Regions from separate parts of the Homo sapiens genome. Here all the other regions are linked to region 2. The links are contacts of gene promoters, found by promoter capture Hi-C in blood cells and fetal thymus (Javierre and others, 2016). All regions are on one chromosome and are shown on one strand. Each heading gives the region's core, a stretch centred on a gene start or on the middle of the fragment in contact. The rest is flanking DNA. Distances are from core to core; before and after follow the strand shown. Region 1 has its middle 21 kb from the start of CAPN9-AS1. Region 2 holds the start of GNPAT (glyceronephosphate O-acyltransferase). Region 3 overlaps TSNAX-DISC1 (TSNAX-DISC1 readthrough (NMD candidate)). Region 4 overlaps TSNAX-DISC1 (TSNAX-DISC1 readthrough (NMD candidate)). Region 5 overlaps C1orf198 (chromosome 1 open reading frame 198). Region 6 holds the start of LOC124904547 (a long non-coding RNA gene). Region 7 overlaps CAPN9 (calpain 9).

Region 1 (3,279 bases), core at 631-3,130, 430 kb before region 2:
ACTCCTCCATTAATCACATTTTCTGTATCTTTTATCTAAGCCCTTGTGGTTTTCATCTCTAGAAGTTCAATTTGGGTCTTTCAATCTCTTCCATTACTTTTTTCTTCTTCTTTTTCTTTTTCTTTTTCTTTTTCTTTTTTTTTTTTTTTTTTTTTTTTTTTTTTTTTTTTGAGATGGAGTCTCTCTCTATTGCCCAGGCTGGAGTGCAGTCAGCTCACTGCAACCTCTGCCTCCCAGGTTCAAGCAATTCTCCTGCCTCAGCCTCCCAAGTAGCTGAGATTACAGGCATGCACCACGCTTAGCTAATTTTTGTATTTTTAGTAGAGACAAGGTTTCAACATGTTGGCCAGGCTGGTCTCAATCTCCTGACCTCAGGTGATCCACCTGCCTCGGCCTCCCAAAGGGAGGGATTATAGGCATGAGCCACCACACAAGCCTATCTCTTCCATTTCTTAACTTAACACGTTCAATCTTTTTTCTAGCTTCTTGAACACATGGAATACAGTTGTAATAACCATTTTCATGTCTTTGTCTACTAAATATATTGTCTGTGTCAGTTCTGGGTCAGTTTCAACTGACTGATTTTCCCCTTCATTATGGGTTGTGTTTTCCTGCTTGTTTGCATGACTGGTGATTTGTGATTGAATGCCAGACAATGGTTGCTGGATATTTTGTATTCCTATAAATATCATCAAGCTTTGTTCAGGGACACAGTTATTTGAAATTAGTTTGATCCTTTTGAGCCTTGCTTTTAAGTTTTGTTAGGTGGGACCACAGCAGCATTTTAGTAGTTTTCATTTTCCCCACAACTGGACTCACCCGGAAAATTCAGAAATTCAGAAAATCTGCCTATTTTAAGGTCTATAACCTTAATTACATATCAAAATCCCTTTTTTCCAGATAACATAATGCACTCACAGTGGGATTAGGGCATGAATAATTTAGGGGGCCATTAGTAGGCCTTACACAGTTCACCCTCAGGCTCCCTCCCCCCTGTAATATTCATGTCTGTTCCATACACAAAAGAGAGTGGTGCTCCTGAGTTTGTACTGCTGCATGGTTGAAGGTGCCACAGAGATTGGAAATTGTCAAAAAGATACTACCTTTGTCCAGGATCCAAGAGTCTAGATCAATCTTACTTTTGCTCAGGTGTTACCCTGTTCTTGCTGGTGTTACAACTGCCAGAAACTACCCCACTGTCAAACCAGAAATAGAAGATTCTCTCTTCTTTCTGTGTTCTGATTTTCTCCCAGGCCCTCTCTCCTATTCACGGTACCTAACAGTAAGCCAGTTGGCAAAGTATCTGTAGTTTGCAGATACCTCACTTGGCAGTATGGATTATAGGAAGGTCACTGTGAGGCTAGATGAATTTGGCTGCACTTACCTCTCCTGCTGTCTTTGGTTCTGACCAGTGGAGTCAATGCACAAATAGCAATAGCCAGATGCTGAACAAAGAATCAGATGTATACATTACTGGGCAAACTCCTCCGAAGTGCTGCTTAAATCTGGATTGTGGAGAATGGGTTAGTCCTGAGGGCAATGTGGCAGCTCTGAAGAGAGTGCCTTTAGGCTGGCTCTACAAGGGTTAGAAAAACTGCAAACTGGCTTTTGCTGCAGCTATAGGAAGTTTCTACTGCTGCTGGGGTGGAGAATTCAGGGTGATGCTCATAGCAACAGTAAGTGGACAGAAGGCAGACAAGAAGGAGCAAGTCTCCTCTTCCTCCTCAAGCCTCTCAGTCTCCTTTTAAGCCTCTTACTGTCATGGCCTCACAAAGAGCAGCTATAAAACAGAAATGGGTTTTGCATAGAACCAGCCTCAGTGCTACAGTGCAGAGTATATGTGGGTGAGTGTGGAGCTGAGAGGTTAGCACCTAAGACTGACAAACTCTGTACCTAGGTGGTGCTGAAAGTGCATAGAACACATGCATGACCTCTCCATGTAGATACAGATCTGTGGAGTAGCTATTCACCCAGGGAAGAGAGAACTTGAGGCTGCAGGGAGGCCAGAATATCCTCTCTAGTATGTCTCCATGTGGGAAGAGAGTGTGTTAGTCCTTCTACCACTGAGCCAAGACAAAACCTTCCTTCCCTTGCACAATGGCACTGGGCCAAGTAATGGTGACAATTGCTGAGGACAGTGGTTACACAAAGACTTTTGGAATCTGAGAAAGCAAAGATGCAATTTGTGCCATGACTATAGGTTGTCTAGAGGTAACATGTAATGTGTTTTTAGTAAAAAGTTATTTCCCATAGAAAAGTATATATGCATGCAATTAATTGTAATGATGAAATTCTTGATACAACTCTTATAGGAAAGACCAGAGGTAATGCAAATTTTATACTTACACGCTGCACAGAATAAATCTTTCTAAAGAATATGTAATTCAGATTAATGAGTAGTCAATCACCTTAGCCATTTTTTCTAACTATAAAGTTTTTTTTCTCTAAATTAACTTCTGCATTTTTCCACAAAAATCAGAAGGTTCTTTTGGAACTGTACAACACAAAGAGTGAACTCAAATGTAAATGATGGATTTCAGTTGATAGTAATGTGTCAATATTGGTTCATCAATTGCAATAAATATACCACATCAGTGTTAATATGTGTGTGTGTGTGTGTGTGTGTGTGTGCGCGCGCTTGCATGAGTGTGTGTGTGTTAGTGATAGGAGAAACTGTGGAGGAAGAGAGGGGGAAAATGGGATATATGAGACCCGTCTCTGCTTGCTGTTCAATTTTTCTGTACAACTAAAACTGTAACTTTGTTCTGATTACTTTTAAATTGAAATCCATTTCCTTAAAAATCACTATCACTGTTTTCTCATGCCTTTGACTTCTTATCATGGCCCCTTGATCAGGACTGTCCAGAGAGCTCACGCCTCCCTTTGTTCATGAAGGTGGGCGTGTTCATCACTGGTGGGTGTGCTCATCACAGGGTGGTTTCTGAGACTGAGGAGCCATCAGCCTTCAAACTTCCTTTGCTTCAACCTCTAGCTTCAGTTGGCTGGTGGCTATTTTCACTTCAGCAAGAACTTCACTAGATTTGTAGATCTTTGGAAATCAAGACCAAGCTTGAGTAGAATATTTTTCCAGACATCTCTGAGGTTGAATTTGCAACCTCCTGCAAAGAGTTGTCAGTGTTCTCTGAATCCTGGGTTTTGAAAGCTTCCCGGTTTCATGTTTGTCTATGATTTTTACAACATGGTTCTGGAAGCTCTTGCAAACATAAATTTTTAAATGGACACAACTTTCGGACTTCCATGTTCATGTCTGCATTGTCC
Region 2 (3,319 bases), core at 406-2,905:
CAGGAACATGGAATAGTCTTCCTATTTTCTTTCACAGTTAGGAATTAAGATGAACCTAAGACAACTGGCTCAATTTGAATGCCTTTGTTTTCTATTAATTCCTCTTTCTATATTTCACTTGTTGAAGCTCTGACCAGTCACCTGAAAGTTCTAACCAGAATCCTAGGCATCCTTACTCACATGTATTACAAATACCACAGAGCTCTCTAAATTACCAGCTGCTGATTTATGCTTGCTACTATTTGCTTAATCTTTTATACAATAAACATTTAAGAGCCAACTAAACTTTGGCATTAAGGATATAAAAATGAATAGACACATTCAATGCCTTCAGAGCTCCTACCATGATTTCCAGCCTGTGTTGACATGAACTATATTATTTTGCAGAATAGTCTTTTCCTCTAGATTTTAAACTTCTCAAGGTCAGAGACTAAGTCTTCTCTGTCCTCCAATATGTCCAAGGGCACAGAAATGCTAGTTAATACAAGCATGGGGTCTGGGGCTAGAATCAGAACCCAGGCTCTGCAAAAATTACCAGTCAGACAACCTGCATCAGGTTTCATGAACTTCTAGTACTTGTTTCTACATCTGCAATCATGGATTTATGACAGTGTCTATTTCATGAAGTTGAAAATTAAATGAGCAAATACACGAAAAGCATGTGCTATATGGCAAGTTCTCAACAGTTTTAACTATTATTCCTACTGTTTAGGTGAACTTAGAATTTTGAGCAGTCATTCCAAAATAAAAATAGCTTTTAAAATATCACGCTGTAAATTTAAGAAATGTGTGTTGTCCTGAAATCTAATGATTTTCTTTGGTGCATGTGCAAAGGGTGTCACCTTCTCCCGGGAAAGCTCTTCAGAGTATGAGGCACTGTCTTCCTACTGACATGCCATGCGACTTTAATAGGCTCTTTTATTTTCCTTTTCCCCCATCAAGACAAAGAACGGAGAGTAAAAGATCAGCGCACTTGTTTAAAAAAAAAAAAGTCGTGAAAAGGACAACTCGCCAAGGACTATGATGTCTCTGGAGAGGGACACACAAGGATGAAGCTGGTGTATTATCCAACAGGCCCGAGGCCCCAGAGCGAAATGACACCATCGCACCAGGGTCAGGCAGGTCTTGGGGGTGGCATGGGGAAAGGGGACTTCCCAGGGCTCAAGAAAACGTGGAAAAGCGGGCTACTTTTAAATCGGAAAGCCTTGGTGCTTCCTACAAGCAAGTAGGATGGTCCCCACACTTGGGGACGAGTTGGAAGGTTTGATGAATAACTCAGCAGAGCCCGGTCGAGGGGTGACTTCCGATGGAGAAATGTGTTCGCTACTGGAACCAGGTGGGACGAAGGGTGCTTGACATGCAAGAACCTTTAGCCTCAAAGCAGAGGCCAACCCAGGACGGGCAACACAGGAGACCCACGTTCCTCAAATCTGTTCTCCACGTGGGCTCCTGGGACCCCGCACTCACCAAAGTCGTAAAGGTTCTGGAGCAGAGCGTCAAGAAGTGTCGGAGAACTGGGAGGCGTGGAGGACCCCGGCCCTTGCTCCTGCGACATTGTGGGGTCAGCCGAGGAATCAACCCTCATTCTGCCGCGCTGCACCCCCGCTTCCGGGTTCCGCGACTGCGCGCATGCGCTGCAGGGCCCTGCGCGGCTTCCGTCCTGGCTGAGATGGCGGCGCCCGGGATCCTGTGTAGCGGCTGCAGAGGGTGCCGCCGCCCTAGGCGAAGTAGGGCCGTCCTGAGCGAAAGAACCGCCCCCAGCAGGAGCACCACCACGGCTTAGCAAAGAATCCCAGACCCCGCCCGGGAAGGCAGCCGCACCATGGAGTCTTCCAGTTCATCTAACTCTTATTTCTCCGTTGGCCCAACCAGTCCCAGCGCTGTCGTGCTCCTCTACTCGGTAGGCGCCCAGGGAAAAGAGGCCCAGAGCGGAGCCGCGCGAAATAGTACCCCTTTCTCCCAGTCCCTATTCCTCCGGCCCACCACCCTTGCCCAAAAGAGCTGGCCCCTAGGCTCCCGAGGAGGGGTTAGTTGGTTGGATTGGTTTCCAGGACAACAGTGTATCGCTGTGTGTCTGTGTGTGCATGCTTTTGGAAGTTTCTACGGATTATGGTTCCTTTGGTTCCTTTCCACTTTTTCCTTCTCTTTCTTTCTATCAGGCCCTGGGGCCTTCAGAAAGCTCCTGGACACGAGAATGAGGAATGAGAATTGGAGTCTCCCCATCTCTAGCGAGGGCATGTCGAGCTACCTTTTGGGCAAACCTGAGAAACTTGCGGGTTTGACCCGCCCTGAGATAGCCTGTGGCTCCGCACCCCGCCCTATGCTGCTGTTATATTCCTGGGAGTAGAGCACTTGGCTTGTATGTGGGAATAGAGTTTTAAACACTTCAGGAAAATTTAGAACTTCTAGACATTTTTATTGCCTGTTCTTGTCTTCCAGTCATTATTGTACCTTTTCCACAAATCATTTTGGAGGACAGCCAGCGCCACCCAGCTTCTCTCCCGCTTGTCTTTTTTTCCTCCAACCCCCTCTTCCTCTCTTGGTTTTAACGGGTCTTTTTGGCTGGCAGATGTTGGTCACCCACGATTTTCATGAAGAAATTATGAGATGGGAGCTTTATAGCCTTCAGGATTGCACAGACCTGGGGCAACTGGTTTGGTTTTTGTTTGTTTCTTGTTGTTTTTAACCACTAAATTAGTTTTTAGCTACTTTAGGAGAAAATGAAAGAATTCATTTTAAAAGCATATTAGCATATCCTGGTGATTACTGTCCAATTTTGGCTTAAATGTAGTGTTCATTTGTGCAGAAAGGTCAAAACAGGGATAACACAGCAGAGCAAGATAAACACCCCAGTTTTGAAAGAGAATATATGGGTTCCTTCAAATTGAGACACCAATATTCTTTGGAACATGGAGAAACTTCTGTTCCCTCTCTATCAAGACCTTTCGGTTTCTGATTGCTAACTGCCTATAAGCCTTATTATTTAGATATATCTCTTCATTGATCTTATCTTCCCCACAGTTCTGTGGTGGATATCAACTTTGTTTTCTGACTCTGCTACTCCAGAGCAGGCACGAAGGGAAGAGGGTTGCTGTGCAGATCCAGCTTTTAACATGTAGCTTTTTAAGCTCCCAACTGGTTTGTGAATTGGTTGGAATTTTCCTTTTGTACATTAAAGGAAGGAGTTGGTTTTGTTTGTTTGTTTGTTTGTTTTACTTCCCCTTTACCAACGGTTCTTTAATAAGACTTGAGTCCACTTTTTCATGTGAAAAACTATGGCAGTTGTATCTGAGCATTCTGTAGTTCTGATGCTGGACAG
Region 3 (3,636 bases), core at 127-2,626, 380 kb after region 2:
ACCTCCGCCTCGCGGGTTCAAGCAATTCTCCTGCCACAGCCTTCCTAGTAGCTGGGATTACAGGTGTCTGCCACCACGTCCAGCTAATTTTTGTATTTTTAGTAGAGACGGGGTTTCACTATGTTGGCCAGGCTGGTCTCGAACTCTGGACCTCAGGTGATCCACCCACCTCGGCCTCCCAAAGTGCTGAGATTACAGGCATGAGCCACCATGCCCAGCCCTCATATTTCTTTTAAAATAAATTATATACATTATTTTAAATTGTAAAAATCCAAAAAGCCAAAAATTTTTAAAAGAATGAGATAAACAGTATCTTTCAAATAATGAAAAAAAAATGGTATATAATGTTAGATTTAGGCTTGGCTTCATATAAGAAAAAACAACTAATGGTGGCATAAACAAGGTAACAATTTTTCTCTGTCCCATAAAGGAAATCTAAAGGAAGGCAATCCAGCAGGGATATGGCAACCCCACAAAGTTGTCATGGAACCAGACTAATTCCAGTTATCTGCTTTGCCATTACTAAGCTGTGGCTTTGTCTTCAAGGTTCAAGATGGCGTCTAGAGCTCCAGCCATTGTATCCATAGTCCCAGATGCCTGATGAATGAAAGAAAAGTCTCCTCTTCCCCTTTAAGATTTCTTTAAGTCCCATAAAACATTTTGAAACCAGATTGGAAGTCTTTTAACCTTCTGATTCCAACCTAGAGCAAGGAAATCCCCCAAGGAGTGCTCTACCATGTGAAATCTTCTCTTCCCCATGTTGTCATGATCCTGCCCTCATGTGCTCTGACTATTGCCAAGCCTTGGATTTCATTTCTGGAATAATGCCTTGCTCAATATTAGAACCACTTTAGTTAGGATTTGGGGGAGGCAGCATGATTGAAGAACGTGAGTGCTGTTGACGACAGTATTGTTGGTGAAAGCAGCTCCAGTTCCACAACTTACGATCTGAGACATCGTGTGGCCATTCATGTACAGGCTTTCAGAACTGAGAGAACTTTGGTAGACTAATCAAGATGAGATAGGTTATCCGGTGGCAACAAAGATACCTACGTCTCAGTAGCTTAATTCAATGTATGCTTCCTTTTCTCTTGTTCATGTTTTATGTTTTATAGAAGTTTACAGGCAAGATCCTACTCACAGAGGCTCTTGGGATCAAGGCTGACAGAAGCTCCATCTGAAGACTTTTATACTATAGAGGCAGAAAAAGAGTGATGAATCAAGCACTGGCTTCTAAAGCTTCCGCCCAGATGGGAAGCATATCTCCTCTGCTCACATTTCCCTGACCAAAGCCAGTCACATGGCCATCCTCAGCTTCAGAGAGGTTGGGAAGGCATTCCCACTATGTGTCTGGATGCCAGCAACTCAGAAATATTTGGTGAGTGCCTCTGTGGCTACTGGTAGTTTAGTTCTTATGCCTATGTTCCAGTTTTGTCCTCTGAAAGGCCAAATCTGAAATTCAAAATCTTACAAACAGGTTTATACTTGAAAACGGGTAAACATTCTCATAACATAAAGCTTAATAATATTCATGAGCTTATTTTTGCAAACTCTGCATCACACCGAAAAGAGAAGTTCTCTGGCTTCCTCAGCTCAGGGGCTGTCTCATTACTTGGTCCCTAAGACCACAGCTGGGGACTGGTTCTACCTACTATGGAAGTTTCACCAGCCAGGACAAAATAAAAAAGAAAGGAAAAACCAGGATAAATGAGCTTTTGAGAAAGCAAAATTCACTGTTTTTAAGGAACTGTCCTAGCTTCTATCACATATGTATTATTTTTTTGAGGTTAAAAGAAGGCTTTTCTATATGAAATAGTGGCGATGGTAGTTGGTAGAAGTTTTTTTTTTTTAAAGAAATGTATGGCTGGGTGCGGTGGCTCACGCCTGTAATCCCAGCGCTTTGGGAGGCTCAGGCAGGCAGATCACCCGAGGTCAGGAGTTCAAGACCAGCCTGGCCAACATGGTGAAACCCTGTCTCTACTAAAAATACAAAATTAGCTGGGGATGGTGGCGTGTGCCTGTAGTCCCAGCTACTCGGGAGGCTGAAGCAGGAAAATTGCTTGAACTCAGGAGGTAGAGGTTGCAGTGAGCCGAGATTGAGCCATTGCACTCCAGCCTGGGCAAAAAAGAGCAAAACTCTATCTTAAAAAAAAAAAAAAGTAAATTTACTTGGCAAAATAAAATGTTAGTGTCATTATATATCTCACCTTCTTGTTTTTTCTTAAATTTTTAGCAACCAGCCATGAAACAAAAGTTTAAAAGCCACTCATCTGGTTTCCCCTTTGTTTTCAAAGAAGGAAGCTAGAAAATTAAGTGATGTATCCCCAAACACACACATTTAATTGGAGAAAGAACCCCTAATCAATTCTTGAATTCAAATTTCAAATTAGCTGAATGGCATGAACCTTTCTTCCCCTGGAATAGCCTTACAGAGACCTCACCATTAACAGCATCTGCAAGAGAAGATTAAAGCACACGATTACTTTACTCACTGTGTAACACATGAGGAACATGGACGAGATGGGAAAAAGGTGAGTGGCTTAACGTCAAGCACTTCATTAATGAGATGAACTCCTGACTTTGGACAGTGGTCCACTTACAGACGCTGTCTTTGAAACTGCCTGCAGAGCCTCCTGAGATCTTCTAATATGGCTGTTGAATTGGGGCATTTAAAAGCTTCTGATGGTTGCAATGTGCATCAGTTTTGGGGGACAGGGAGGTCCCCTCTCTCTCATTAAGAAGACACAAGCCAGGAATTTATACTGATCAGACAACATAAAAATCAGCTGTGAGAGGATTGGGTCAGAAAACCAATGAAGAGAGGTTGGCCAGAAGATTAAAAATCAGAAAAAGAGGCTTGAAATTGCTGAGCTTTCTAATGATAATAAGGTTGCCACCTATTATTATGGCCACTCATGTTGTCCCCCTGTATATGAGAGCTGTGAGAGTAACAAAGTGTTACGTGTCAAGGGTCACATGTGACAATCAATGTGAAAGATGGAAAGAGAGGGCTGGTGCCTATCACCTAGGAATGATAGGTGATATGGCCGAGGTGATAAACAGTGAGAGGGGGGCGAGTGTCTCTTCCTCGGTGGAAGTTGGAGTAAATGTAGACACGGATAGAGAACAAAGTCTACTTATTCAAAACCGAGCAGCCAGGGGAGGAGCAGTCCTCCCACAGTGAACTATTGAATTGTGAATAAATCTCTGACTGGAGAGATTCTGAGTCAGGGGGATTAGCTGTTCCTATATTACATGTGGTAAACTGGCAGAAACAGGTTTAAACCATTGAGTGGTAGGTCTTTAGGCAGAGTAAAATTAATGTACCCTTCCTTAATGGCTTTGGCTGTTTGACCATGTAAACGCATTTTGAGTATCACATCTCTAGCGGAGGCTAATCACTGGGAGGTAAAGATGACCACAAGTTGCAGGCATCTCGGGATCACAGGTCTAGAGCGGGAGCCTGCAGCCTCTCTGCCAGTTTCCCATGAATTATCTCACTATTGTGGCTTTAAGACAATATGCACTGCAAAAGGAAGGTTATTTACATTATATATTTAGCCTAACACTAGGATAACATCCTTTGGCATGGCCACTATCTGATGGTATTTGAAACTGAACCAACTTCCTATTTCC
Region 4 (3,423 bases), core at 476-2,975, 340 kb after region 2:
GGTGAAACCCCATCTCTACTAAAAATACAAAAAATAGCTGGGCGTGGTGGCGGGTACCTGTAATCCCAGCTACTTTGGGAGGCTGAGGCAGGAGAATCACCTGAACCTGGGAGGCAGAAATTGCAGTGAGCCAAGATCACACCATTGTACTCCAGCTTGGGCAACAAGAGCAAAACTCTGCCTCAAAAAACAAACAAACAAAAAAACTCAGACTGAAACATCAGCTCCTGGGTCTGGAGCCTCGTGGCTTTTAGTATTAATAACATCAGCTATTCTGGTTCTCAGGCCTTTGGACTTGAACAATGGTTCTCCTGGGTCTCCAGCCTGCCACCTGCCTATCTTGGGACTTCTCAACCTCTGTAATCCTGTGAGCCAATTCCTTATAATTAAACACACACACACACACACACACACACACACACACTCTCTCTCTCTCTCTCTCTCTCTCTCTCTCTATTGGTTCTGGTTCTGTTTCTCTGGAGAACTCTGGGTAATACAATATCTTTGGCTTATCTCCTTGTGTACCTATGTAAGAATTTCTCTAGGAAGATTATGAAGGAGTGAAGTTGCTTGGTCTTAGGGGTATACGTATGTTCCACTTTATTAGATATTGCCAAAGTGCTTTTACCAATCTAAGCTTTCTTCTACAACTGTCTAATAGTTTATGTTTCCACATAATTTTGTGAGTCCTGATGGTCAATCTAATGGATTTTTAATGGTTTTTTTTTTTTTTTTGGGAAACAGGGTCTCGCTCTGTTGCCCAGGCTGGAGCGCAGTGGTGTGATCATAGCTCACTGCAGTCTCAGACTCCTGGGCTCAAGCCATCCTCCTGCCTCTACCTACCTAGTAGCTGGGACTATAGGCACAGGCCACTGTGCCTGGCTAATTTTCTTATTTTTTATAGAGATGAAGTCTCACCATGTTGCCCAGGCTAGTCTTGAACTCGTGACGTCAAGTGATCCTCCCGCCTTGGCCTCCCAAAGTGTTGGAATTATGGACTCGAGCCACCACATTTGGCTGACAGTATCGCTTAATTTTTAATTTTCCTACTGCTACTAATTTTACCTATATGAGATCGCATTTTTGTGAGCTAAAACTATCAAGTATTGGCAATTTAATGAGGTTTAATCTAATAGTGAATATCTTTACAATGAAAACTTTTGCCACCCAGATTTTGTCTATATATTACTTGCCCTTATATTCTTGACATTTTTCTATTAGATTGTCTTTCTCCAAACTGCTCTTTCCCCCTTCTCTCCTTTTTGTAGTTCTTTACTGATAGCTTCTCCTGGTCTATGGTTGAGAGTATGTTGTCCTTTTTATAGAGAAATTTTGATGCCACCAAAATTTGGACACCAGTATCCATTACCTGCCACTCTCAATTACCCTTAACCGCCCCCCACCCCCGTGGCCTTAGGCAACAACTAATCGACTTTCTATATGTACATATTTGCCTGTTATGGACATTTCATGTAATGGAATCATAAAATTCCATTCTTTCAATTACTGGGTTCCTGCCATTCTCCTGCCTCAGCCTTCCGAGTAGCTGGGACTACAGCTGCCCACCACGGCGCCCGGCTAATGTTTTTTTATTTTTTAGTAGAGACAGGGTTTCACCGTGTTAGCCAGGATGGTCTCAATCTCCTGACCTCGTGATCCACCCGTCTCGGCCTCCCAAAGTGCTGGGATTACAGGCGTGAGCCACCGTGCCCGGCCTAGCATGTTTCTTTCAGTGAGCATGTTTCAACTAGCATGCTTCTTTCAATTAGCACGTTTTCAAGGTTCATCCATGTTGCAGCGAGTATCAGTGCTTCATTTCTTTTTATTGCCGAGTAATATTCTGTCATATGGATACACCACATTTTCTTTATTCATTCATCAGTTGATGGACATTTGGGTTGTTTCCACTTTTTTGGCTCTTATGAATAATGCTGTGAACATTCATGGGCAGTGTTCTTGTTTATTTTAATAGTTTTTTGTTTGTTTGTTTGTTTTTGAGATGGAGTCTCACTCTTGTTGCCCAGGCTGGAGTGCAATGGCACAATTTCGGCTCACTGCAACCTCCACCTCCCAGGTTCAAGTGATTCTCCTGCCTCAGCCTCCCAAGTAGCTGGGATTACAGGCATGTGCCACCATGCCCGGCTAATTTTTGTATTTTTAGTAGAGACGGGGTTTCTCCATGTTGGTCAGGCTGGTCTTGAACTCCCAACCTCAGGTGATCTGCCAGTCTCAGCCTCCCAAAGTGCTGGGATTACAGGCGTGAGCCGCCGTGCCCAGCCTAGTTTTGTTGTTGTTGTTGTTGTTTGTGTTTTTTTGAGACAGAGTCTCACTCCGTTACCCAGGCTGAAGTGGAGTGGTGATATCTTGGCTCACTGCAACCTCCGCCTCCCTGATTCAAGCAATTCTCGTGCCTCAGCCCCACCAAGTAGCTGGGACTGCAGGCATACGCCACCACACCCAGCTTATTTTTGTATTTTTAGTAGAAACAGAGTTTCACCATTTTGGCGAGGCTGGTCTCGAACTCCTGACCTCAAGTGATCCACCTGCCTTGGCCTCCCAAAGTCCTGGAATTACAGGCGTAAGCTACCACCCCTGGCCTATTCTAATAGTTTTTTTTTTTTAAAGCAGATTCCTTAGGGTTTACTACATACAAAATCATGTCATCTGCAAATACAGATAGCTTTACTTCCTTTCCAATCTTGATGCCTTTTATTTTTGTCTCTAACCTAATTGCTCTGTCTAGAACCTCCAGTACAATGTTGAACAGAAGTGGCAAAAGCAGGCATCCTTGTCTTGTTCCTGATCTTAGGGAGAAAGCTTTTAGTCTTTTAATTATGATGTTATCTGTGGGTTTTTCATAGATACCCTTTATCAGGTTGAGGAAGTTCCCTTCCGGTCCTAGTTAGTTGAGCATTTTATCATGAAAGACTGTTGGATTTTTTTTTAATTTGAATATGATTTTACTGAAGCATACATCATTTCAAAGCAAAATTAGTTTATGTTGTCAATTCTAACATATAATACATTTAAGTCATTATATGAATTTCATTTTTTGTGTATTTCACTGTAGTGCTGTGACAACAAAATGACATCTGTGTCCCAGAGCATACATATATCAACAGTAAGATGTAATTTTTCATTACATCACTGCTAGAATATTTAGCTTTGTGTAGGAGACCTAAGCATGTAAGATGGCCACACTAAATAATTTTCTGTTTTTTTCCTTAGGTAATCTTAATTTTTTATCAGTAATACTTTATAGCTGTTAGTTGTGCATTGGCAGTATAAAAGCTAATATATACTGTATGGTCTTGCAACAGTTTTAAAGCCTCTGCATAACTGATAATAAAAATGCATGACATTTTTGTTTTTAATAGACTTTTAAAATTATAGTTTTAGGTTTAACACATAGATCTTTGTACA
Region 5 (3,505 bases), core at 206-2,705, 390 kb before region 2:
TGAAGAAGTCCAGGCTGGCTTGCTGGAGACATGTGGCCCAGCTAACAGCCAGCACCAACCAGACACGTGAGCAAGGTTCTCAGAGCACCCAGCTCCCATCAGGCGATCAGATGACACATAAGTGATCCCAGGCAAGGCCAACGGAAGAACAGTCCAGCTGAGCCCTGCTCCGATCATTGACCCACACAATCATGAGCACATAAAATGCTGCTTCAAGCCATTAAGTTTGTTATGCATCTATAGAGAACTGATAGAGTGAGGAAGGCATCAGTTGAGAGGTAACAAGAAATGGGGTCCAAGTCTCCCTCCAGTCCTGCAATTGGAGATTAGGGGGTCCTACCTTCACTAAAGCCACCTCCTGTTTGTGGCTCTCCAATGAAGATCTTATAAGCCTTTAAGTCCTAAGAAGAGTTTGGCAAATCTCTTCAAGCAGGATGGCAGGGCACTCCAGGGTTAAGACAAAGGAGGAATGAGTGATGGGCTTTTTAAAACTCGGCACTGCCTAGTGAAGAAGGAGGAAGGGACAGCTCCCTTGCTCTCTGAGATACGCTCTATTTTGCCCCTAGACGTTTCTAATAGTAAACTATAGTAAGTCTGACCTCGAGAGATCAAACAGGAAGGTGAGGACACAGAGTGAGCCCAACAGTTTGTGAAACAAACTGGAACTCTAATCTAACAGGAGTATGAAATGAAACTGCCAACTCTGAGCTATGAAGACTACACTTTACTAAAAGGATGCAATTTCTGATGGGTGACACATATTAACCAGATTTTAGCAAGCTTCCTCAACTTACACTGGTTCCTAAGGGACCAGATATGCTGGCATCTGTGGACAATGAGCCTCTCAGCACAAGTGTGATTCAAGTGGACTGTACTTGCTCTCTTTTTTCTCGAGATCTTCGCCAGGCACCTGTTTCCCACTCTGGCCCCAGCAGCTGTGCTTGTATCAGTGGCCACTCCAGGAGCTGCACCACCTTGTCCCAGAATGTCATTTATGCCAAGTTAATAAAAGATGAAATGTCCTGTCCCACAAATAGCTGATTCAGGAACATTTAACAAGCTAAATTCTTAAGAGAACAGATGTTCTCGTGGGGAACATGATGAGCTTAGGTCTTAGGACACTTTAACTATTTTTTACTTTCCTTTGCCTTTATCACTATGATATCTTCAAATATAGACCCAGTCCAGGAAAATCTGCACTGCTTTCTGGGTCACCATACCCAAGGCTGCTCATTTCCAACACACAGAGAATCTATCTGGCTATTACCACTAGATATCATCTATAGGATTAGTACTTCTCACAATTACCCATTTTGGGAGCCCATAGAAGAGGAATATTGAGGGCCCTGGCTAAGAATCAATGTAATGATGCACTTTTTACCCACTTATGACTTCCTTTGCAATGTCAGTAGACACAGGATCCAGTGTTGGATTTAGAAGCTATTCCAATTGCAGGCGGCTCCTTAACATCTTGTGCTCTCTCCCAAGACAGTGCTGGTCACCCCTGCAACCCGTACCCGATCCCTAGGGAGACTACATTAATGCCATGCCTTCCCCAAAACCACCTCTTAACTCTAACACTCATCTCAATTGTCCCACGCTCCCACGCCCTGAGGCCAGCTCACTTCACCCAGGGCAATCGGCAATAGCTTACTAAATACTGTCTGTGTGCCAAGAACAGTGTCAGCTGTCCTTGTGTCCATCTGAACCCTTGGGCAATATTTCATTTTAAGACACAGTCGCCAACATGAGGGCCTCTCAGGGTCCTTCATGAACCACTCTGGCCCACCCTCCTCATAGGTCTCCTGCTGGGATGAGGGCTCTGATCAGCAATGATGTGGACAAGTGAAAAACCAAAAAACAAGTGCCTTGAGGTATCAGTATTTAAAAACCCTGATCTGCCCAGCAGTCCGAGCCCTATTCCAGGCTCACCACCGTCTCTGTCTGTAACACACTCTCATGACGTAAAGAACCCTCCAACACACATCACCAAATGTTCCAGAATTCAGAAAATCTTGGTCTTTTATTTCTGTCCCTTGGGTTAAAGACACCTGTCTTTTAGTCATTTTGCTTATGAATGTACTTCTACTGGGGCAACTTAGGAGATGGGGAAAATGAATTAAAATCAGTGAAGCTTGATGCTCTTAAGCAACTCTGGTGATGATGATGATAATGATGAGAAGAAGAATGACTGGGAGACAGAATTAGTGATCCACGTTGGGATGAATTAGCTAAATGGATGTCTATGTCTATCAATCAGCTCGTCACCTCCCATTTGCTCAAAGCTTTGTCTTATGGGGCATCTCCCATCAAGGTGCTAAGTGCTGGGAACCAGAGGTATGAGCAGAGACAGGGCCCCCAAGAGGGCTGGCCCCCTTAACCAAGCTGGCCGGGAGTCCTAGACAATGGGCATCATGGGGCGTCATTGGACCCTGGCAGAAAGCACTACTACTTTGAACTCACTATCACCAAACCACACACAATAGTTTCCTAATTCCTCACCATGCTCCTCCCATCCCCTCCTTTTCTACCAACAATGGACACATCCCCTGCAGCCTGGCAGTCAGGGGGCTGTCTTCTGAGTCCATCAAATGCTGAAAGAAAAATATACAACTACTCAGTTCTTTTTAAAAGAACAAATAGATCTAAATTTAATCCAACTTACCTTTGTTTCCCAGGAGAAAGGGGCAGAGTGCTCATCTTGCCAAGTTAGATCCTGAAATAAAAAATCGAGAATAAGTCTGAAATTCAAACCCAGACATACCCCATGCAAATATCCACCCAGGACCGTGGGGGAACCAAAACTTAGGAATAATCCCAACTCCTGGCTCTAAACAAGCCTGATGCTTTGACACTCTCAATATAATGCGCTGACCGTCTTGATCAGATTGCTCCCTCATCTTTCCCGCTGAGGCTGCCAGACACTCCCCTCCCCAGCCAAACAGACAACAGGGAATGCCGGTGAGGCCCCCCAATGGACTCAGACAGATGAGATGAGTAGGAGTGGATGAGGGCTTGATGGTCTCAGCAGAATCAGGCACAGACTCAGCCCTGAACAATGATTAGCTGTGTGGCCATGGGAAGATGACTCAGCCTTTTTGAGCCTCAGTTTTCTCATTTGTAAAAGCAAAATGATACTTCCCTTGCAGGGCTGTTGTAAGGATTAAATGAGGTAATCTGGGAAAAGAACGCCAAGCCATAATCTGCCAGTCAATGCCAATACAGGAGCTCCCCTCCTCCCCAACAGGCCTACCAGAGAGCTCGAGGGCATGGATCAGCAGAATCAATGAAGAAAAACGCCAATGTAATCCATGTGACTAATTATAACAAGAACTCTGAAATCACTCCCCACCCCCACCAAACAGAACAGGACAGAAAGAGCCCTATAGAACAATCACTACGAATTTGACCTTGGATCCAGTATGTTTTGTTCACTGGCCTGCACAAATGACTTGGGGAAGCCACCTTTCCTTATATCCCACCCTCTACCCGCAGTTATTCCTGT
Region 6 (3,508 bases), core at 404-2,903, 350 kb before region 2:
CAGGTCAATTACATTATCTGGTATTTAACAGAACAAAGCACAATCTATTCCCCTGCTAGAGACAAGAAATGTGTCTTTTTGTTTTTTCTTAGAGATGAGGTCTTGCTATGTTGTCCATGCTGGAGCACAGTGGCTATTCATAGGTCGAAACATAGCGAACTACAGCCTGGAACTCCTGACCTCAAGCTGTCCTCCCACCTCAGCCTCCTGAGCAGCGCAGACTACAGGTGCATGACACCGTGCTCAGCTACGAAATGCGTTCTGTTGTTGTGGGGTTTCTGGAGACATAGTTTGTTAGATTTTAATATAGCATCTTCTTAAGAGATTTTTCTTTCTTTTTTTTTTCTTTTTTTTTGAGACAGAGTCTCACTCTGTCTCCCAGGCTGGAGTGCAATAGCACGATCTCAGCTCACTGCAGCCTCCACCTCCTGGGTTCAAGCGACTCTCCTGCATCAGCCTCCCAAGTAGCTGGGATTACAAGCATGTGCCACCACATCCAGCTGATTTCTTTTTGTTGTCGTTGTTGTATTTTTAGTAGAGACGGGGTTTCACCATGTTGGCCAGGCTGGTCCTGAACTCCTGACCTCAAGTGATCAGCCCACCTTGGCCTCCCAAAATGCTGGGATTATAGGCATGAGCCACCATGCCCAGCCTTCCTTAAGAGATTTTTAAGGGTAATTTTCATTATGCTCAATATTACCTTATACATGGCACTATATAATCAGAACAGTTTTTTAGAAACTGTACCAAAATAGGATGACCCAGGAGAGCTACCAGAGACAGGAGACCAGGTAAGAGGCTGTTGCTTCTATACAAGAAAGAACAGGTCTCAAGTAGGATGGTGGTTGTAGGTCTGGGAACATACAGGTGTCAGATATCACAAAGAAATACTCGACAGAGCTTGGGCATGGGTTAAAGATAAGAGTCAAAGAAAAGGAAGAGGTCACCGCTGTCCAGTTTTAAGCTTGGATAACTTGGAGAATGGTGAAACAAGGAGCAGAAATGAGTCAGGAGGAAGAACTGATTTCTGGGGGAAGGATTTGAAGAGTCTGGCTGCACACAATTTGAGTTTGAGGGGCTGATGATCCATGCAGGTACAGAGGATTTGTAGCCAACTGGAAATGCAAGACTAGAGTTGGCAGGGAAGCTAGCACTAGAAATGGTGCAGAGATGATGGTTGAAACCACGAGAACAGATACAGTCAGTGAAAGAACTAAAACAAGAGAGACCTGGCCGGGTGCGGTGGCTCACGCCTGTAATCCCAGCACTTTGGGAGGCCGAGGAGGGTGGATCACCTGAGGTCAGGAGTTTGAGACCATCCAGGCCAACATGGTAAAACCCCGTCTCTGCTAAAAATACAAAAAATTAGCGGGGCATGATGGCGGGAGCCTGTAATCCCAGCTACTTGGGAGGCTGAGGCAGGAGAATTACTTGAACCCGGGAGGTGGAGTTTGCAGTCAGCCGAGATCACGCCACTGCACTCCAGCCTGGGCAACAAGAGCGAGACTCTGTCTCAAAAAAAAAAAAGAGAGAGAGAGACCCAGGACAACCACGGAATGTGGTCGCAGTTAAGGATGGGACTGAGGCATGAGAGGGCTAAGGCTGCAGAGAGGAACCACGTCAGGGGCAGGAGCAAAACCTGCCCTCTTTTAAGCCATCCTTGGTGTTGATGGCAAATGATCTTTCTAATTCTAGTCAAATCATTCCCATGCTTTACAGTCTACATACAGAGAATGAAGTCCAAATTCCTGAGGATGATGGCAAGACCCGCCCCTCTGCCCCTCACTTCCTTTCCAGCTGCATCTGCAAGCCATCCCAAGCACACTAGGCACGTTCATCTCTCTGAACATTTCCTCCCAACTTTGCCTCTGCTGGGAAGGTCCTTGGCTACCTGGCACATTTCTACTCCGCCTCTGCGGTCCCATACTCTCCACACCTCCTCGGCATAGCCGCCGCATACATAACTGCCGCACAGCTATCCACCTCAGGTGGAAATAATTGGGTCCTTTTGGCTTTCCCACAGCAACTTTGATATAGCTCTTTTAAAATCATTATCACTTTGTCTTATTACGTATCACTTCTTTCCGAATCGAGCCTGAGATCAAGCAATCCAGAGCAGGGAAGCAAAAAAAAAAAAAAAAAACGTCAACAAGAAAGCAGACAGAAAAGAGCAGAAGCCAGGGGAAGGCTAGGTCCATGGACAGAGGGTGGGGAGGGGTCAGATCAGAGGTTAAGGTAGAAATGAGTGGAAGGCAGCGCCAGAGCAGGTTCCACTACCAGTAGACGTGGGAGTGGGTAACAGTTTGAGTGAAACTGATGGTAGCTGGTGGGAAAGGCTTCTAGAAGCTTCTAGAAGCTCTGCCCTGGTGTTGACACACTAGTCATCTCTCCTGAGATTTAATAACATAATTATCTGATTCACCTTGGCTTTTTTTCCTTTGACTTTTCCAGATTCCGTCATATCTCCGAGACTCCAAGTAAACCTGTGTCCAAATGTCTCATAGGATGCTCCCAGGAACGGCTTGATCCTCGTTTTTGAAACTTCAAGTGCTGGCTAAGTAAGGGGATGTATTTATTAGTCCATTCTCGAAAGGCTATAAAGAAACGCCTGAGTCTGGGTAATTTATAAAGAAAAGAGGTTGAATTGGCTCACAGTTCTGCAGGCTGCCCAGGAAGCATGGCTGGGAAGGCCTCAGGAAAGTAATGGAAGGTGAAGCGGGAGCAGGCACTTCACATGGCCAGACCCGTAGCAAGCAGAGGAAAGGGGGTGTGGGGGCCGTGCATCTTCAAACAACCGGATGTCAGTAACAAGGCAGGGTGGTGCTAGACCATGGGAAACGGTCCCCACGATCCAATCACCGCTCACCAGACCCCACCCACCTCCAACCCTGGGGGTTACAACTCAACATGAGATTTGGACTGGGTCACAGATCCGAACCATATCGAGGAAGAAGCACCTAACTCAACCTCTCTGCTAGGAAATTACCAACTGAGAAATTCCCTTTGGATGCTTCCCTGCCCTCAAGCCTCTCACTTCACCCTAAAGAAAAACCGGCGGTTGATGTAGAACGATGGGATGGCCATTTTCCCCCGAAGAAGTTTCTCTTTTGAACCTGGCCAACTTTTTCAATCATATCTATCGTTAGGATTATTGTTATTCCGGAATTGCAGGCAATGTTTAAATTTTGCACCCAGTACTAAAGACACAGCTTTTTAAGATGTTTTAAAAACTTGATTTCTAAAACATGAAGACTTCAGGCCAGGACACTTTTCAAAATCTTTCCTTGAAAGATCTTAACTTTCAAGATATTGTAAGAAGCATTTAAAAAGAACATTACAAAACTATAAATAAGAGGTATTGAATGATTTTCTCCAAGCTATTTCTAAAAAGAAGCACTTATTTAGGTAACCTTTATTGTATTTGTTTATATGTTGGCTTCAGAAATTATAAAGTATTTGCCAGGTGTGGTGGCTCACACCTGTAATCCCAGCACTTTGGGAGGCTGAG
Region 7 (3,554 bases), core at 706-3,205, 440 kb before region 2:
CAGAAAGCACGCCTGAGAGTCCCCCGCACACTCGCCCCTGCACCACAGATTCACACTCTCACGCTGCATTCACACCAAGGGCAGCAGTCCCACTGGGTCTGGGGACCCCAGCTTTGAGGAGTGAAACAGTGGCTTCCTCTTCTGAGCCCTCTCCTCAGCTGCCTGGGAGCTCCCTCAAAGGTGCAGACTCACCTCGGGGCTCGGATACAGCGAGTCCTGGGTCTCCTCCTTTGTCCCCACAGGCTTTCAGCTGAGCAGCCACCTCCTGCAGCTGATTGTGCTCAGGTATGCGGATGAGGAGCTCCAGCTGGACTTCGATGACTTCCTCAACTGCCTGGTCCGGCTGGAGAATGCGAGCCGTAAGTGTCCAGCGAGGCTGAGGGTGCACCTCGGGGTGGCATCTTCAGTCACCCTCCATGAGCGCATGAGAAACAGCCTGGTTAAAGTAATGGCAAAGATAGACCACAGAGAGCCATGGTCTGATGTGTGTGGACCCATGGGCCTGTGCGGTTAGCTAAGGAGCAGAATGTGCCAGCCTCCCCTGCAGCACGTTTCTTAGCATCGCCTTTCTTTATACATTCACAGTGCCTCTGTGGGAGGATGATGGGCTGGGGCAGGTTTGTGCCTTGTGTTTGAGGAAAGGTTCAATTGCAGGTCAAATCCCATCATAGCATATAGAAACAGGAGAGTCTCAGTCCCCCTTCCTCCCCCCTTCCCCGCCCTGTAAGCCCTAGACATTGACCCAGTTATCTCAAATAAGATTTGTTACACCACAAATAGAGAGGGATTATGTGCCCGTGCGCTTCAGTGTTTGCAGTTTATTGTCATAGCCATCCTGCCCCTCAAAGGTGGTTTTGAAGGTGAGGCTGAGTGAAGCATGTCCAGGGCCTGTAACTCAGTACTGGAGTGGCTATGAGGACATGCCCTGTGTGCAGGTGCCAAAGGACCCGTGCCCTCAAGGGTGCCTCGTGCTTGGTTTAATGTTCTGGCGTTTCCATCTTGAAAGTCTTCACAACTTAGGAGCAGGGGGCCCCGCATTTCCATTTTGTCCTGCTTGGTATTTTCTAATCTATGTTCCATAGGCCACTTCGAGGTATGAATACTTGATTAAAAAAAAAAAAAAGGCAGGGGGCTGGGCACAGTGGCTCACGCCTGTAATCCCAGCACTTTGGGAGGTTGAGGCAGTTGGATCGTGAGGTCAGGAGCTCGAGACCAGCTCATAGCGAAACTTTGTCTCTACTAAAAATACAAAAAATTAGTCAAATGTGGTGGTATGCACCTGTAATCCCAGCTACTCGGGAGGCTGAGGCAGGAGAACCCCTTGAACCTGGGAGGTGGAGGTTGCAGTGAGCTGAGGTTTGCCACTGCACTCCAGCCTGGGCAACAGTGGGAGACTCCATCTCAAAAATATAAATAAATAAATAAATAAATAAATAAATAAATAAATAAATAATAAAATTAAATTAAATTAAAATAAAAAGGTGAGGGCTGTGACCCTTGGTTATCAGCATGATAGCTCCCTCTGCTTCTTTGGTAATAGAACACTAATTACTTGCCTGAAGCACAGCCCCTCTAGACTCTAAGCTCCAGGAGAGCCGTAATTTCTGGACAATCAATGAGTATGTGTTGATTAAGGAATGATGAGAGAAAATCAGAGACAGACCAGCAGGCCCCAAAGGGTCTAGTATATCAAGCCAGGAAGCCGGCTTTCCCTAAGGGGTTACTGGTAGCTAGTGAGAGGTGCATTCTAGAAAGACCCCTCCTGAAACAGAATCCGTTATTAGACTTACAGGGTGGTCAGAGCTGACCCTAGAAATAATGAGATTTGCTAGTTTCTCTTCTCTCCATTGCTCTTTCCCTTTCTAAACCACCCAGGTGTAATCCTTCCCAGAACGGGGGGTGGGAGTGCCTCAGCTTTTCTTATAGTAGAGGAATATTAGGGTGAAGACCCTTTAGGCTTAACACCATCCACTCTGGCATCCTCACATTAGATTTGCCTGGAGAACTTTTAGAATTACCAAGGATGGAGCTTTGCTGCAGTATTATTTTAACTTTTTATTGTAAGAATGTCAACCCTCCAGTTAGATATAAAGAATCATAATAGGTTCCCATGCACTCCACATCAGCACTTCTCAAACTTCGCTGTACATTACAATCTCCAGGGGTGCCTAAAGAAATGCTGATGACCAGGCTGCACAGTTGACCAATTCTGTTAGAATCTCAGGGGTGGCACACAGCATTGGGAGTTACGCAAATTCGCCAGGTGTTTCCAGACCTTTACACCCAACCTCAACAATTACCATCTTGCTAACTTTTCCCTTGTGCTCCCGCAACACATACATTTTCCCCCTAAATAATTTAATAGCAGATCTCAGAAACTCTGTCCATTCATCTGAGTATCTCCAGCTGATAGACTTGTTTTTAGCATCATCTTCATACCATTTGCACACCTAACGAAATTCTCAGCAAACCCTCAACATTCTCTAGTGCCCGGTTCATGCCCAAGTCTTCCAGGCCACCTTTTTACAGTTGCTTGGTTGACTCAGGATCCACACAAGACCCAGTCACCATGTTTGGTTGTTGGGTCTCTTCCATTTCTTGTGTCCAGTGATGGTCCCCCACCCCGCTTTGGGTTGTATTATTAAAGCTACCCGAGAGATTCTCAAGTGAAGCCAGGGCTGATTGGCTCGACCTCGTCTTCTGAAGGTGAGGAGGCTGAGGCCCCAAGAGGGCAGTGACTTGCTCAGGTGCACTCAGGTCACTACACCATGCGGTAGACCCAGCCCCCAGCTCAGTGCTGGCACGCTCTCCTGTGCCACTCTGTCCTCTGACAGCACCCACGGCACCTTCCTACAAGGGCGAGACTAACAACTTTCAGATTCATGCAAAACTTTACGTGCGTGTGCTTTTTTTCTGGGGCCTATGGATTTCAAGGGCCCTGTACCCCCCAGAAGGTTAAGATAGGGGCGTTGCTTTGGCTCCAGGAGCTGCTGGCCGGCTGACTGGCTTAGGTGACCACTGGCTTGCTACAGGACTGGATGCCTCCATCCGTTCAGAGAAGTTCACCTTCAGCCCGCCCTTGATGAGAGTCCCATCGCCGCCCTTGATGAAAGTCCTTGTTTACCACCAGATGGAGCAGCTTCCCCACAGGCTCCACTGGAAGGCCCTTTGGTCGCTGGGAAACAAACTTGGTAAAGGAATTGTCTTTAAAAGGATGCCTTTCCCCCTTCTCTCCTATCAGGGGTGTTCCAGGCTCTCAGTACAAAGAACAAGGAGTTCATTCATCTCAATATAAATGAGGTATGGCCAATCCAGACCCTCTGCTCAGGGACCCAGCTGGGGCCCAGCAGAGTCCACGCTGCATAGATGTTTGCCGAATGCTTGATTTCATGCAAGGGCTGACATCTAGCTGTGGGAGTGATTATAACAAAATAGCTAATATTTTTGAGATACTATTTATCAAGTAATCAATTAAGCCATTACAATAATTCTGTGAGCTAAGTACCAATAGTATCCCCATTTTGCAGGGTGGAAACTGAGGCATAGAGAGATTA

The links. Contacts are between HindIII fragments. The CHiCAGO score rates a contact against its expected background, and 5 or more counts as called.
Region 1: a fragment that was not itself captured here is called in contact with the fragment with the promoter of GNPAT in region 2 in 1 of 17 cell types (erythroblasts); the score reaches 6.5 in erythroblasts.
Region 3: a contact is called between a fragment that was not itself captured here and the fragment with the promoter of GNPAT in region 2, in 3 of 17 cell types (non-activated CD4 T cells, naive CD4 T cells and activated CD4 T cells). The highest score is 6.1, in non-activated CD4 T cells.
Region 4: a fragment that was not itself captured here is called in contact with the fragment with the promoter of GNPAT in region 2 in 1 of 17 cell types (neutrophils); the score reaches 5.7 in neutrophils.
Region 5: a contact is called between a fragment that was not itself captured here and the fragment with the promoter of GNPAT in region 2, in 3 of 17 cell types (non-activated CD4 T cells, endothelial precursors and erythroblasts). The highest score is 6.1, in non-activated CD4 T cells.
Region 6: a contact is called between a fragment that was not itself captured here and the fragment with the promoter of GNPAT in region 2, in 1 of 17 cell types (non-activated CD4 T cells). The highest score is 5.1, in non-activated CD4 T cells.
Region 7: a contact is called between a fragment that was not itself captured here and the fragment with the promoter of GNPAT in region 2, in 1 of 17 cell types (erythroblasts). The highest score is 5.1, in erythroblasts.

The regions. Positions count from the first base shown.
Region 1 is chr1:230,814,155-230,817,433 of GRCh38, forward strand. No RefSeq gene overlaps it. Among named protein-coding and RNA genes, the nearest start is that of CAPN9-AS1, 21 kb to the left of the region's middle. The HindIII fragment of the contact is 2,373 bases long and covers 695-3,067 here.
Region 2 is chr1:231,239,557-231,242,875 of GRCh38, forward strand. GNPAT (glyceronephosphate O-acyltransferase) reads left to right here and starts at 1,656. Exons shown (of 16, transcript NM_014236.4): 1 at 1,656-1,900. The coding sequence starts at 1,823. It overlaps FSAF1 (40S small subunit processome assembly factor 1), which reads right to left and starts at 1,619. Exons shown (of 7, transcript NM_152379.4): 1 at 1,468-1,619. The coding sequence starts at 1,585. RefSeq lists enhancers at 1,349-1,688, 1,669-2,558. The HindIII fragment of the contact is 8,993 bases long and covers 1-3,319 here.
Region 3 is chr1:231,615,529-231,619,164 of GRCh38, forward strand. It overlaps TSNAX-DISC1 (TSNAX-DISC1 readthrough (NMD candidate)), which reads left to right. Exons shown (of 16, transcript NR_028393.1): 5 at 1,116-1,378. Among named protein-coding and RNA genes, the nearest start is that of LINC00582, 5.3 kb to the left of the region's middle. RefSeq lists a silencer at 2,421-2,621. The HindIII fragment of the contact is 279 bases long and covers 1,238-1,516 here.
Region 4 is chr1:231,578,236-231,581,658 of GRCh38, forward strand. All of the region lies in intron 4 of TSNAX-DISC1 (TSNAX-DISC1 readthrough (NMD candidate)), which reads left to right. Among named protein-coding and RNA genes, the nearest start is that of LINC00582, 32 kb to the right of the region's middle. The HindIII fragment of the contact is 2,180 bases long and covers 636-2,815 here.
Region 5 is chr1:230,853,003-230,856,507 of GRCh38, forward strand. It overlaps C1orf198 (chromosome 1 open reading frame 198), which reads right to left. Exons shown (of 4, transcript NM_032800.3): 2 at 2,666-2,716. Among named protein-coding and RNA genes, the nearest start is that of C1orf198, 14 kb to the right of the region's middle. RefSeq lists an enhancer at 2,240-3,439. The HindIII fragment of the contact is 1,354 bases long and covers 779-2,132 here.
Region 6 is chr1:230,887,075-230,890,582 of GRCh38, forward strand. It overlaps LOC124904547 (a long non-coding RNA gene), which reads right to left and starts at 3,406. Exons shown (of 3, transcript XR_007066938.1): 1 at 2,654-3,406; 2 at 2,423-2,554. It overlaps LOC105373167 (a long non-coding RNA gene), which reads left to right and starts at 2,326. Exons shown (of 4, transcript XR_949264.3): 1 at 2,326-2,558. RefSeq lists a silencer at 1,505-1,679. The HindIII fragment of the contact is 1,382 bases long and covers 963-2,344 here.
Region 7 is chr1:230,794,921-230,798,474 of GRCh38, forward strand. It overlaps CAPN9 (calpain 9), which reads left to right. Exons shown (of 20, transcript NM_006615.3): 18 at 243-359; 19 at 3,242-3,300. It overlaps CAPN9-AS1 (CAPN9 antisense RNA 1), which reads right to left and starts at 291. Exons shown (of 2, transcript XR_001738518.2): 1 at 193-291. The HindIII fragment of the contact is 4,089 bases long and covers 1-3,554 here.